Regions from separate parts of the Homo sapiens genome. Here region 2 is linked to region 1. The links are contacts of gene promoters, found by promoter capture Hi-C in human tissues and cell types (Jung and others, 2019). All regions are on one chromosome and are shown on one strand. Each heading gives the region's core, a stretch centred on a gene start or on the middle of the fragment in contact. The rest is flanking DNA. Distances are from core to core; before and after follow the strand shown.

What was found. The method cuts DNA at HindIII sites, captures the fragments that hold promoters and counts their contacts. A contact is called where the count stands out against the background at its distance.
Region 2: a contact is called between a fragment that was not itself captured here and the fragment with the promoter of DGKG in region 1, in 1 of the 25 tissues and cell types used here (dorsolateral prefrontal cortex).

Annotation. Positions count from the first base shown.
Region 1 is chr3:186,360,652-186,366,018 of GRCh38, forward strand. DGKG (diacylglycerol kinase gamma) reads right to left here and starts at 1,583. Exons shown (of 25, transcript NM_001346.3): 1 at 1,295-1,583. RefSeq lists an enhancer at 351-868 and a silencer at 1,653-1,742. The HindIII fragment of the contact is 4,334 bases long and covers 1-3,658 here.
Region 2 is chr3:185,990,574-185,996,255 of GRCh38, forward strand. No RefSeq gene overlaps it. Among named protein-coding and RNA genes, the nearest start is that of TRA2B, 55 kb to the left of the region's middle. The HindIII fragment of the contact is 3,768 bases long and covers 1,511-5,278 here.

The DNA of each region.
Region 1 (5,367 bases), core at 333-2,832:
AATTTCCTTCATTGACAACCAGGGTGCCCTGTGTGCCAGCAAGTGGCTCTGCCAGCTGTATTTTACAGACAGAGAATCCCAAGCACCAAAATAACAAAGTTGATTCCCCCATCCAGACCAGAGGGGTCGTTTCCAGTCCTGTGTCCTGACCACTGTCTCTCATCATGACCCCTGGTGTTCACCTCCAGATCCAAAGTGTCGTCGCCAAGCCCCCAAAATAAAGGAATGACAAACAGCCCTCCCAGGCCCTCCTCCCCACAGAGAGGTCATCGTATGCTAATGAAGTCCGAGGAGGCAGCGGCGCAGCGCGGGAGAGCGCGCCCACGGGTTCACAGCGCTCCCGGGCACCACTGCGGCGCAGCCACAGATCGCTTCGCGCTGCAGCAGACGCTCCCGCCGCGGGGGGCGACTGGGGGAGGGGTCTCGACCGCCACCCTGAGTTCCGCAGCTCATCCCTCCCATCTGGGAGGTGGTTCTAGCTCTAGTCCCAAGCTTTCCACTGCAGTGATGGTGGGGATGGGGGCAGCACGTCAAATCACCTGTAGGGCTTTTTAGAACTCCACAGCCCCCTCCCCTAATTCTATTCCACTAGTTCAAACGAAGAAAATCTCAGACTAGGCAAGGGGAGGTGGACCGGTGGAGTCTGCGAAAGCACCACAGGTGACTCCGGGTACGCACTCCTCAGGACACAAGCACACACACGGACACATCTTGTGACTCTGAGACTACACAGATCAACCTCAGATTCGACCCTTCCCTCCTTTATTCTCTGAGGTGTCCGTGTTCGCTTCAGCTTCCCTTTAAGTCGCCCTGCGCAGGGGCTTTGTGGAGTGCCCCCAAAGTCCTAGAACCCCGCGGGACGGTCGGAGGCTTTGGCGGCCAGACATTAGGAAAAGCATCTCCTGCTTCTCGGACTGCCTGGAGCGCGAACTGGATATCAAGGAGCCAAGGTTAAGTCCAGAAGAAGAAGGAAATCCGACCAGTTGCTTTAGCAAACTGCCTGGAGCAAGGCCGCCTCCCACCCGCACAGCTTTGAGGCTTGAGGGGGCCTCTCAGTCGCAGAGAGAGCCGAGCCCCACCCTGTGCGTTCCCCAAGCCTGCACCCCTCGAGCGGGGCATCCCTTCCTGCAGGGCTTTGTGGCAGGTGGAACTGTCGGGGTGGGCGCCGTGGCTTTGGCTGCAGCCCCTTCCCTGGCCGCGGGACCGGCTCCCGCTTTGCCCTCCTTTACCAAGTTGCTGCACCGGGTGCTCCCTGAGCCGGGGACCCCCTCCGCCGCGCCGGCCGCCGTCTTACCTCACCAGGCAACACTTGGTTGCGCGGTGGCCCGGGGCGCTCCTTCTTCGCGGTTTATTCCCTTACTTGGGAGGAAAGAGGAACCGAGAGACAGAAGGGGGACCGAAGCTGGCCTCTGGGCGTCTTCCCGCCTGCGCAGCCCTCTCGGGGGAGGGGGATGCAGCCCCAGTGGGTGCCGCGGAGACCAGGCTGCCAGGCTGTGGTTGGTAGCGCCGGGGTCTTCACCCTGTGCTCGGAGTTCAGCAGCTCCAAAGCTGTCTATCTCCGTGGCCCGCTACTACGGCACTGCGGCTCTGTGCCCTGCCCCTCGCAGCCTGGCAAGTCCAGCTGCCACTCTCACTGCGGAGCCCTGCCCCCGGGCGCAGAGCCCGCCCCCGCCACACACACCGGCGCGCGCGCGTACACACACGGCACACACAGACACGCGCTTCCACACATGCACACGCGTGCGCACACACGAATGTGGATCCGCTCGATGGGAACCTGACCCCCTTTGGTGCAACTAGGGCGCGGGCATCATTAGGACGCTTTTTACTGACAGGGCTTCGGTTTGGGAGGAGGAGTTACAGGCTTAGGAGTGTGGAGAGGATGCAACAGTGGTGGGTACCAGAGGGCCCCTGACCCCGGAGGCAAAGGACAACTGTTTGACAAATAAATACCGACTGGGCGTTTCCTTTTCTCAACTCTGGTCAAGGCTACCGTAATATCCCGACCAAATCGAAGAAAAAATAAAAATACAAAATCAACAAGTTCTCTTTGTTTCCCAGGAACTCAGTATCTCTAGGATCCAAATCACTAGCCCTGTCCAGAGGGTCATTTCTGACAACCTTGACTTCGGTGGCAGTGGATTGGTGGCAGTTCAACTCGAAAAGGTTTTCCCCTCGTAGCCTGGTGGAGACTGGCACAGCCTGCCTGAGCTGGACTCTGTTGGATGGGTCGGGTCTCTGGGTGTGTTTAATTCCCATTCTCCTTTGCTTTTAGGTGACCTTGGACTGTATTCCTGCAGAATAAATAGATCTCTTCTTTTTTTAAAATGTAGAAGAGCACAGAAAAGACGCTGGGGTGAGGGGTCGGGGGGAATAGGGGAGCTACATTAGCCAAGGCACTATGACTTGTTGCTTCTCTTTCCATGACGTGCATGTCCACGTGAGGGGGTGATGGTGGTGGTGACACTATTTCAGGCATGTCACACAGCAAGATGACTGCTGTCCATTTCACACCACATTTAGAGTCATTAGGAGTTTAGACTGTCATCTTTAAAATATGTGGAGTTTACTCATTTCCACAGCCGAGAATTCTTTTCTGCCAGTGGGCAGTGAAGGTCCCCGGGCCAGCACTGCAGCCAAGAAAAGCTTTCCGCAGAGTGTGGAGGCGCCGAGGGGCTCTGGGTGTCTGTGCATTTGGGGAAGAAGCCTCAAACACGAATGTCAAACAGCCCTGAGGACCCTGTTGGGTGGTGTCCATACTAGGCTATCTGCAGGCAGGCTGGTGAGACAGATGAGAAACAGAGCTGAGAGATCTCCTTAAGATTCCACACAGTGATGAAGACAGAGCTGATACCAGAACCCCGTGTTTGCGACTCCTCTTATCCTCTGGGTCTTATCCATTCTATCACCCTGGGTGGCTTCTCAAAGTTTCCTTCAGCTAGGCTGAAATAATCTTGGTGAGGGTGCCTTCAAAGTTCTTCCTTGTCCTTTCTTTTTTTCCTCTTCAGTCACTGACTCATTCATTTTACAGCTATTTATTAAACTCCTACTCTGTCTTCAGGTGCTTCCCCGTAACTCCAGTCCTGGGCCTTACTTGGGAGGAAAGAAGAACTGAGAGACAGAAAGGGCTTAGAACTGTCCTCATCCCTGGAAGAGAGGAGCCCTGAGCACAGGTTTCTGGTATATATTTTCACTCTGCTAGGTTGCATGGATGTGGAAGACACAATCCTTGCTTTTTTTGACTGCATGCTCAATGGAGGAAAATGCACATACATGTCACAAGAAAAACATTCTGGCTGTCTATTCTTGACTCCTTCTAAAGAAGGCTAAACTGAAGGAGACCCTGTGTTTGGCTGAGCATCATAATGGACTTGGGGTACATGTTTGCAAATAGGTGTTAGGACAACATTGAGTTGCTCTGCCTATTAGGACAGGAAGGAAATAAATTGAATGGAACAAATGAAGAAGACATGCAGAGACTGAGTGTGGAGCCTTAGCTTCGTTGAGAGCACATTGGGGAAGGGTAACGAGAGGGGAGGAGCTCTGAGGACAGGGTTGCCAAGCAACTTGCCTGAGAACAGGCAACAGGGTTGCCAAGTTGTCCAGGGATTTGGACAGGGGAGATGCTTGCAAAGATTGGTAAGTAGTTTGCTGTGGGGTGGGCTATGAAAGCCCCCGGTCCTATGAAAGAAATCATTTGTAAAGTCAATATTGTTCATCGGTTTGCTTGCAAATGGATTCCTTTAGGATCAGGATGGAGCCAAATGATGCATCTGAGTTGCTGCAGAAGGAGTTCAGAGAAGGCTGTGTGGACTGAGTTACATGCTAATAACATGGAGGAAAAGGGTGGTAGTAGAGGCTGAAGCAATGTGGAAGGCAAAGAGGGATGGGGCGGGAAGAAGCACCAAGAACAATTAGTGCTAATGGAGGCATCATGGAGGAGGTAGGGTTTGCGATCGGATTTTAAAGGGGAATAGAGATCTCACTTAAAGATCAACAGGACAAGGGCAATCTAGGCTGGGAGAAAGCAAAAGCAGAGACGTAGGACAATTCATGGTGAGTTCTGGGTCTTCCCAGCACAAGAAAAGAAGGCTGGGACAGTATTGTGGGAGTCTCCAAATGCTCTTCTGGGAGCATAGACTTGGGTTCCACAGTGAGGAGCTATGGCAGGTGTGGATTTTTTGTTGTTTGTTTTTGATGGGAAATGAGCTGGGAAGCAAGCTGGGAAGTATCTGATGCCAGCTTTCCCAAGGTAGGCCTTCCCCATCAGAATGGAGCACTGTGGGGAGGGAGTCCTTGTTGCTGCTCTCACGAAGAGCCAGAGCCCAGGTGGCTTATGTGGCTTGCTGCAGAGGGCACCCAGCTAAGGGGCTGAAATCCAACTCATGCCCCACTTGCCCAGCCACACAACCTGTTAGGGTTATGTCTGCCTGGAGGGAGGGATGCCTTTTCTCTAATTTGCATGGGCTGACAGAGGCCCTGCAACTGAGCTCTTTATTTGAAAAGGCTGAAGCTACGGTGAAACAAGTGAGGATTTATTGGGCATTTGCTGTATGTGCAAACATAAGGTAAAGCAGAAAGAGTCTTGAGGTCAGGACTATCTGTGAGTCTGAGCATGTCTCTGCTCTGTGGTGACACCCTGAGACTTACTGTAGGGTACAGAGGAGGAAGCTTAGTGCCTCTCCTCAAAGATTTTGCAATCCATGTCAGTTATAAAACAAACGCTCCACTGGTTAAGAAACAGTGAACGACAGTATGGAATCAAGTGCCAAATTGCACAGGGCAGATTCTCAGGGCTTGAGAAAGGAGACCTCCTCTGGGCTGAAAGAGTCAAGGCAGGCTTCATGGAGGAGGAGGGCTGGGTTTGGCAGTGGAGCATGTGTATGTTGGTTCTCAGCCAGAGAAAAGACCTGCGAACAAAAAGCCAGAGGAAACGAAGCTGGGGGCTTCTAAGCATGGATTTTTAGCCGCCACAGCCACCCTAATGCCATTCCCAATTGTAGCCCAAGCGCTGTGATGAGTCACCCTTGTTTCTGAGAGACGGGGCATTTTTGGATGTTTAACTGGTTCAACACTTTACATTCCCTGAGACTTCAATGTTGGCAGCTCACACTCACCATGTTGCTCTGGGAACACATCATCCAAGCCAGCAGCTGATGCCTGATCTCCACTGCCAAGGCAAAGCGAGGGCTGAGTCAGGTACCTGTGTCTGGAAATTTTTAGTCCCACTGTCTCTGACAAGCTGAGCGAACAGCACTTGACAGTTGGAGCACAGCTGAGTTCAGGGTCACCAACCGCAAGGTGGGCCGGGGGGGTTCTGCTCGCCTTCTTAGGCCTCACTTTTCCCATGTACAGAACACAAAGGAT
Region 2 (5,682 bases), core at 2,145-4,644, 370 kb before region 1:
CCTCTGCCTCCGGGGTTCAAGTGATTCTCCTGTCTCAACCTCCCAAGTAGCTGGGATTGTAGGTGCCCACCACCACAGATGGCTAATTTTTGTATTTTCAGTAAAGACAGGATTTCACCATGTTGGTCAGGCTGATCTTGAACTCCTGACCTCAAGTGATCCACCCACCTCGGCCTCCCAAAGTGCTGGGATTACAGACGTGAGCTACCACCAGTAACTTCTATAAAGCTCAACAAGGGTAAAGTCAAGGGCAAATCTCCTCCCTCAAACCAACTTCTTTCTTTCTTCTCATCTTTAACAGGGCCACTGCCAGCATCCAGGAGCCCAGGCTTGCAGTCAACGACTCTTCCTTTCCCATTAACTCCCATAGTCTGTCATTCACAAATTCCTATTTGTCCTTTCTTCCAAATGCCTCTTGCATTTCTTACTTTTCTCTCACTCCCTCTATCTTCATCCTAGCCCAGAGCCTGCCCCTGGGCTGGTATCCCCATAGACTCTTCCTTTTCTAAACTATCATTCTACTCCATTCATCTATTCCTTCATTCATCAGAAGAGCATCTGTGGAGCACTTAGTGCCAGACACTGCGCTAGACACTAGATGCACCCGTAACACAGACATGGTCCAGCTGGGGAGGCAGGTAATTGACAGGCAACTACAGTGTCTTGGGGTGAGTGTGATGATGGAGGAAGCCCTTAGCTGGGACCGTAATCCAGATGGAGAGACGTGTTGGGGAGGCCTACACACTCCTACTGGTTTCATTGTCCTAAACACTTTTATCCTGTTTCAACTAAAATTGACCTTCTCTTACTTTTGTTCCTTTGGGTTCAAACTTTGTAACCTGAGATTCTAAGGCCTTCCTTGTCAACCAAGCCTCATTCCCAGGACCCTCTAGTGGAAGAGGTAGTAGTAACAATGATAGTAATAATAGCACATCTTCATTAAGCTTATTTATCTTAAATAACAGGCCCTCTTCTAAGTACTTTTCTTATGTTAACTCTTCACAACATTCTCTATGAAGGAGGTACAGGTACTATGATTAGCACCACTGACAGAAGGGGAAACCGAGGCATGAGTGCTAAAAGGCAGAATCTGGGTTCAAGTCCAGGTGGCATGGCTTCCAGGCTGGCATGTGATGATGACACCATTGTGTATCAGTGTAACCTGGCCGTGTGGACCTCAGACTCTAAATCATACATCCTAAGTTCTCCCCAAAGACCTTTTTACTCCTGATCCCCTCTCCCCTGAGAATGCCCTTCTCTTTCTTATCAAACGCTATAGAAGGTTTTATTTACATATAAAAACAGAGCCTTCTTCCATGGAAAAGGCACTGGGTCTGGACTCAGTTCGATGTTCAAATCTTGTTTCTGGCTGCCAAATCCTTTCTTCTCCCTGACTCTCAATTCTTCCATCTCTGCAATGGGAATATTACTATTCTCCTCACACAGCCATTCTGAGTATGATGTGAAAATAATGCATGTGAGTGTGCTTGGAAAACTGCAGTCCCATACAAATTTACAGGAATCAACATCATTTTTTTCCTCTGGCTTCTCAAAATAAGAATGTTGTTATACAGTCTGAACTTCACTACAGCAAAGTTTGCTTACACATTCCACTGGGCATGGGACTATCTTTCTATACCTCAACTTCATCATCTGGGCAATGGGCATAATACCAGCTGCTTTATAGAAACATTTTGGGAATTTAATGAATTTTTTTGTTTTTTGAGACAGAGTCTCACTCTGTTGCCCAGACTGGAGTGCAATGGTGCGATCTTGGCTCACTGCAGCCTCTGCCTCCTGGGTTCAAGTGATTCCCTTGCCTCAGCCTCCTGAGTAGCTGGGATTACAGATAGGAGCCACCATGCCTGACTAATTTTTGTATTTTTAGTAGACACGAGGCTTCACCATGTTAGCCAGGCTGGTCTCAAACTCCTGGCCTCAAGAGATCCGCCCGCCTCAGCTTCCCAAGTACTGGGATTACAGGCGTAAGCCACCGCGCCCCGCCAACAATAGTGTTTTAAAAGAATTAGATGCATAATAGACATTGAAGAATGTGTGTTGCCTGTCTTCCCCAAAGCTTGGTTTTTCTCTAGCTGCTGGGGATGAATCAGTTTTGGTTCTCATTAGAAGGAGCCAGTCCAGAATCATGCCTTCTCTCTTCTTCTATTCTGTTAATAAATGAATGACACCTGTATTCTTGGAGCTTCTGATTTAATTCAGCATCAACACTGAAATATTTGTTTACCAAAGAAAAATACTTTCCATGCTCCTCTGACTGTGTCATCCACATGAGCCACCACCAGCAGCCCAAAGCCAGTTCCGAAGCAGCAGAACATTTTTCGAGCAAAACAGCACTCTGTGACCCTCGGAGTGCTTGTTCAGCTGAAATTACTTGTGTCTGGCACAGACCTTCTCTTTTGATTTTGGCAGGATTTCAGGGAGTGAAAAAGCTAGGTTAGTGTTAGGGCTGGGATTAGAATTTGGTACTCAACAGATCATACTGTTAACACTTCTCCTCTTTGCTAACTTTATGAAGTTCAAGAAAAGCTTTCTGGGGAATGGCACCAATTTATTTGCCAAAAGCTGAGATGGGCCAAGGAAGATGTAGTCAGCATTTGGAATCTCCTTGCCTTAGGGTTTAACAGCCAAGGAGGGAAGAAGGATGTGCTGGGGAGCGGGGGAATAGGGGCCATGTGGGTAGTGCTGGAAGGATTCGGGATGCCGAACAGGCTTGGCTCCTTGCGGTTCCACCCCCACAACATCTCTCAAGCCATGCGCCGTCCTCTCCTCTAGCACAGCACTCTGTCCTAATCCTTATCATTCTCACCAACTATAGCAATACTCTCTGATACGCCTTCTTGCCCCTCTTGTCTGTCCTGAGCACTGCTGCCAGTTTTTATTCTTATGCTTAGAAGCATTCAAGCCTCCCCAGTGCTTGTCAAATAAGAGCCTCATCTTTAACACAATGCTCAAGGCTCCCCACAAGCAGGTCCCAAGCTCCACTTCTGCCCCCGTTTCTTCCTTCACCTTCCACGAAGACTCTGGCACCTACGAGCTAGACATGTGCCATCCCCCAGACGTGCCATGTCCATGCCAGCCTGTGAGCCTTTGCACGGACTGGTCCCTCAGCCTAGATTGTCCTCCCCTAGTTCCCATCTTTGCCTAGTAGATTCCTCCTCATCCTCGAGGACCCAGGTCAAATATCGCTTCTTCTGTGAGGCTTCTCTTAACTCTTCAAAGCAAAGCTGATGCCTCAAGCTCATCCATGGGACTTGTGTACTGCACTCTTTTGTGTCTGCCACGAGGGGACCTTGGGGACAGAACAATGCCTTATTTATAATTATGTGTCTTCTACACCACATCGAGTGCCTTGTTCAGTGTCTGTTACTTTATTTGAATTTTTGAAAGCAGATGGGACAATCTCCCTTGATACCAGGGAGAAACCACAGCAGTAAACTCAGTCTTTGGCTGTGTTAGGCTGACTGGTTCTGCTTTCTTTATTTTTATTTTTTATTTTTTTTTGAGACAGGGTCTCTCTCTGTTGCCCAGGCTGGAGTACATTGGTGCAATCTCAGCTTACTGCAACCTCCACCTCCCAGGCTCAAGCGATCCTCCCACCTCAGCCTCTGGAGTAGCTGGGACCGCAGGCGCACACCACCACACTTGGCTGGCTAATTTTATTTACTTTTAGTAAAGAAGGGGTTTCACCATGTTGCCCAGGCTCGCTTTCTTTTCTTTTCTTTTTCTTTTCTTTTTTTTTTTGAGAGAAAGTATGGCTCTGTCGCCTAGGCTGGAGTGCAGTGGCGCAATCTCGGCTCACTGTAACCTCCGCCTCCCTGGTTCAAGCAATTCTTCTGCCTCAGCCTCCTGAGTAGCTGGGATTACAGGCGCGCACCACCATACCTGGCTAATTTTTGTATTTTTAGTAGAGACGGGGTTTCACCATATTGGTCAGGCTGGTCTCGAACTCCTGACCTCAGGTGATCCACCCGCCTCGGCCTCCCAAAATGCTGGGATTACAAGCGTGAGCCACCATGCTCGGCCTCAGGCTTGCTTTCTTTAATCTCCAGAATAATGCAGTGCACTGGGTAATGGGTACTGGGTAAACATCTCCTTGTTGGCCACAGGTAACTGCTCCCTGCAAATGTCATCTCTGAGGAGATGTCCCAAGTGGCAAGGATTTTTGGCTCAATTAAGCTCCCAAGAGTTATCCCCATTATGTTAAGTTCTGGAGAGATATGCATAATTGTGACTCTGTCCCTGCCATGGAGGTCCTTACGGCTTAGTGAGGAAGATACACACACACACAGACACACACAAGGCATGAAGCTTGATGGGGTTCTCAGCTAAGCCTGGGAGCAACAGGGTAGGTTTCTTGGAGGAGGTGAAAACTGAACTGAATATTAAAGTTGTACAGGAGTTACGATGGACAAAGGCAGTGAGTATAACCAATATAGCCTCAAGCTACCATTAGCATTCAGAACTGAAAGATTATGGTGGTATAGGGAAGGGGATCAGTTGAAGAAAGATAGAGATATTGATAGAGAAGATGATATATGAGCTGGGCTTTGAAAGATGAGAGGGTTTTGGATAAATAGAGATAGGAATAGGATACAGGTTGAAAGACAATCTGGGCAAAGGAACAGTGTAAACAAAGGCATAGAGGAGGGATGTAGCTTGCTTTAAATGATCAGCTCCAAAAAGGTTATCACTGGAATATTATTTGAGAGATGAATCATGATGAGAGATGGGGCTGGAGAGAGGAAGGGTCTAGGTTATGAAGGGTCTAAATGTCTCCAGAGTAACTTAGGGTGATGTGATTAGCATACTTTTTAGCTAGATTCTGATGATCTCCTATTAACAGCGGCATCTGCAGAACTGGGAGACAGAGGGCCTCAGGAATTGGTCAGCTCTAATATTAACCAGCAAGACTGCTGTAGGTTAATCACTTCTTCTTTCGTCATCTCTGTTCTTACATTGATATCATTAAGCTGACTCACCTCTTGGTAGCGGAGTCAAAATTAAAGCAACTCAGGGCTCTGCAATGCTGCAATGCTGTCCAAGGACAAAGCATGAACCTCTCTCTCAAAAAACAATCAGTTAAACATCTCTCCCCTGAAAGAACAGCCCCAGCACTCCCTTCCAGGCTAGTTTGTTCTTAGAAAGTAAATTTCCCTATGTCAAGCATTTCTGATGGGTCAGAGACATGTTGGGAATCAAGAGGGCCCCTAGCCTCCTAAAATTGGGCTACAGGAGTCTTAGGCCAGAGCCCAAAGGGGAGGGATGTGATATTGTCCATTGGTCTTGGAGGGAACTCAAGTTGTTCCAGGAATTCTCTCTCTGCTCTAAGCCCCAGGCTCTGCCAGAAATGAAGATCTATTGGAATGTGGGAATCCTGACAGAGTCTGGCAAACAAGGTGCATGGCAGTCGTGGGGTCCTTGACTTTGGGTTTAATATTGAGCTCCTATGCAAAACATATAAGAAAGGCCTTCTGCTCAGCTGCAAAATAAATAGCTCTTGTGAGAACTGCTGCATTTCAAGGCCTATTTTCGGTGAGTGTGGGAATTTAGATGGGTGAACCTGGTCTCTATAGGTCCAACTGGAATCTTCAAGTGTAACACTCATTGATAACCCACACTGAACTTCCTTCATTACGAAAAACTATATGCATCTCTGATGAT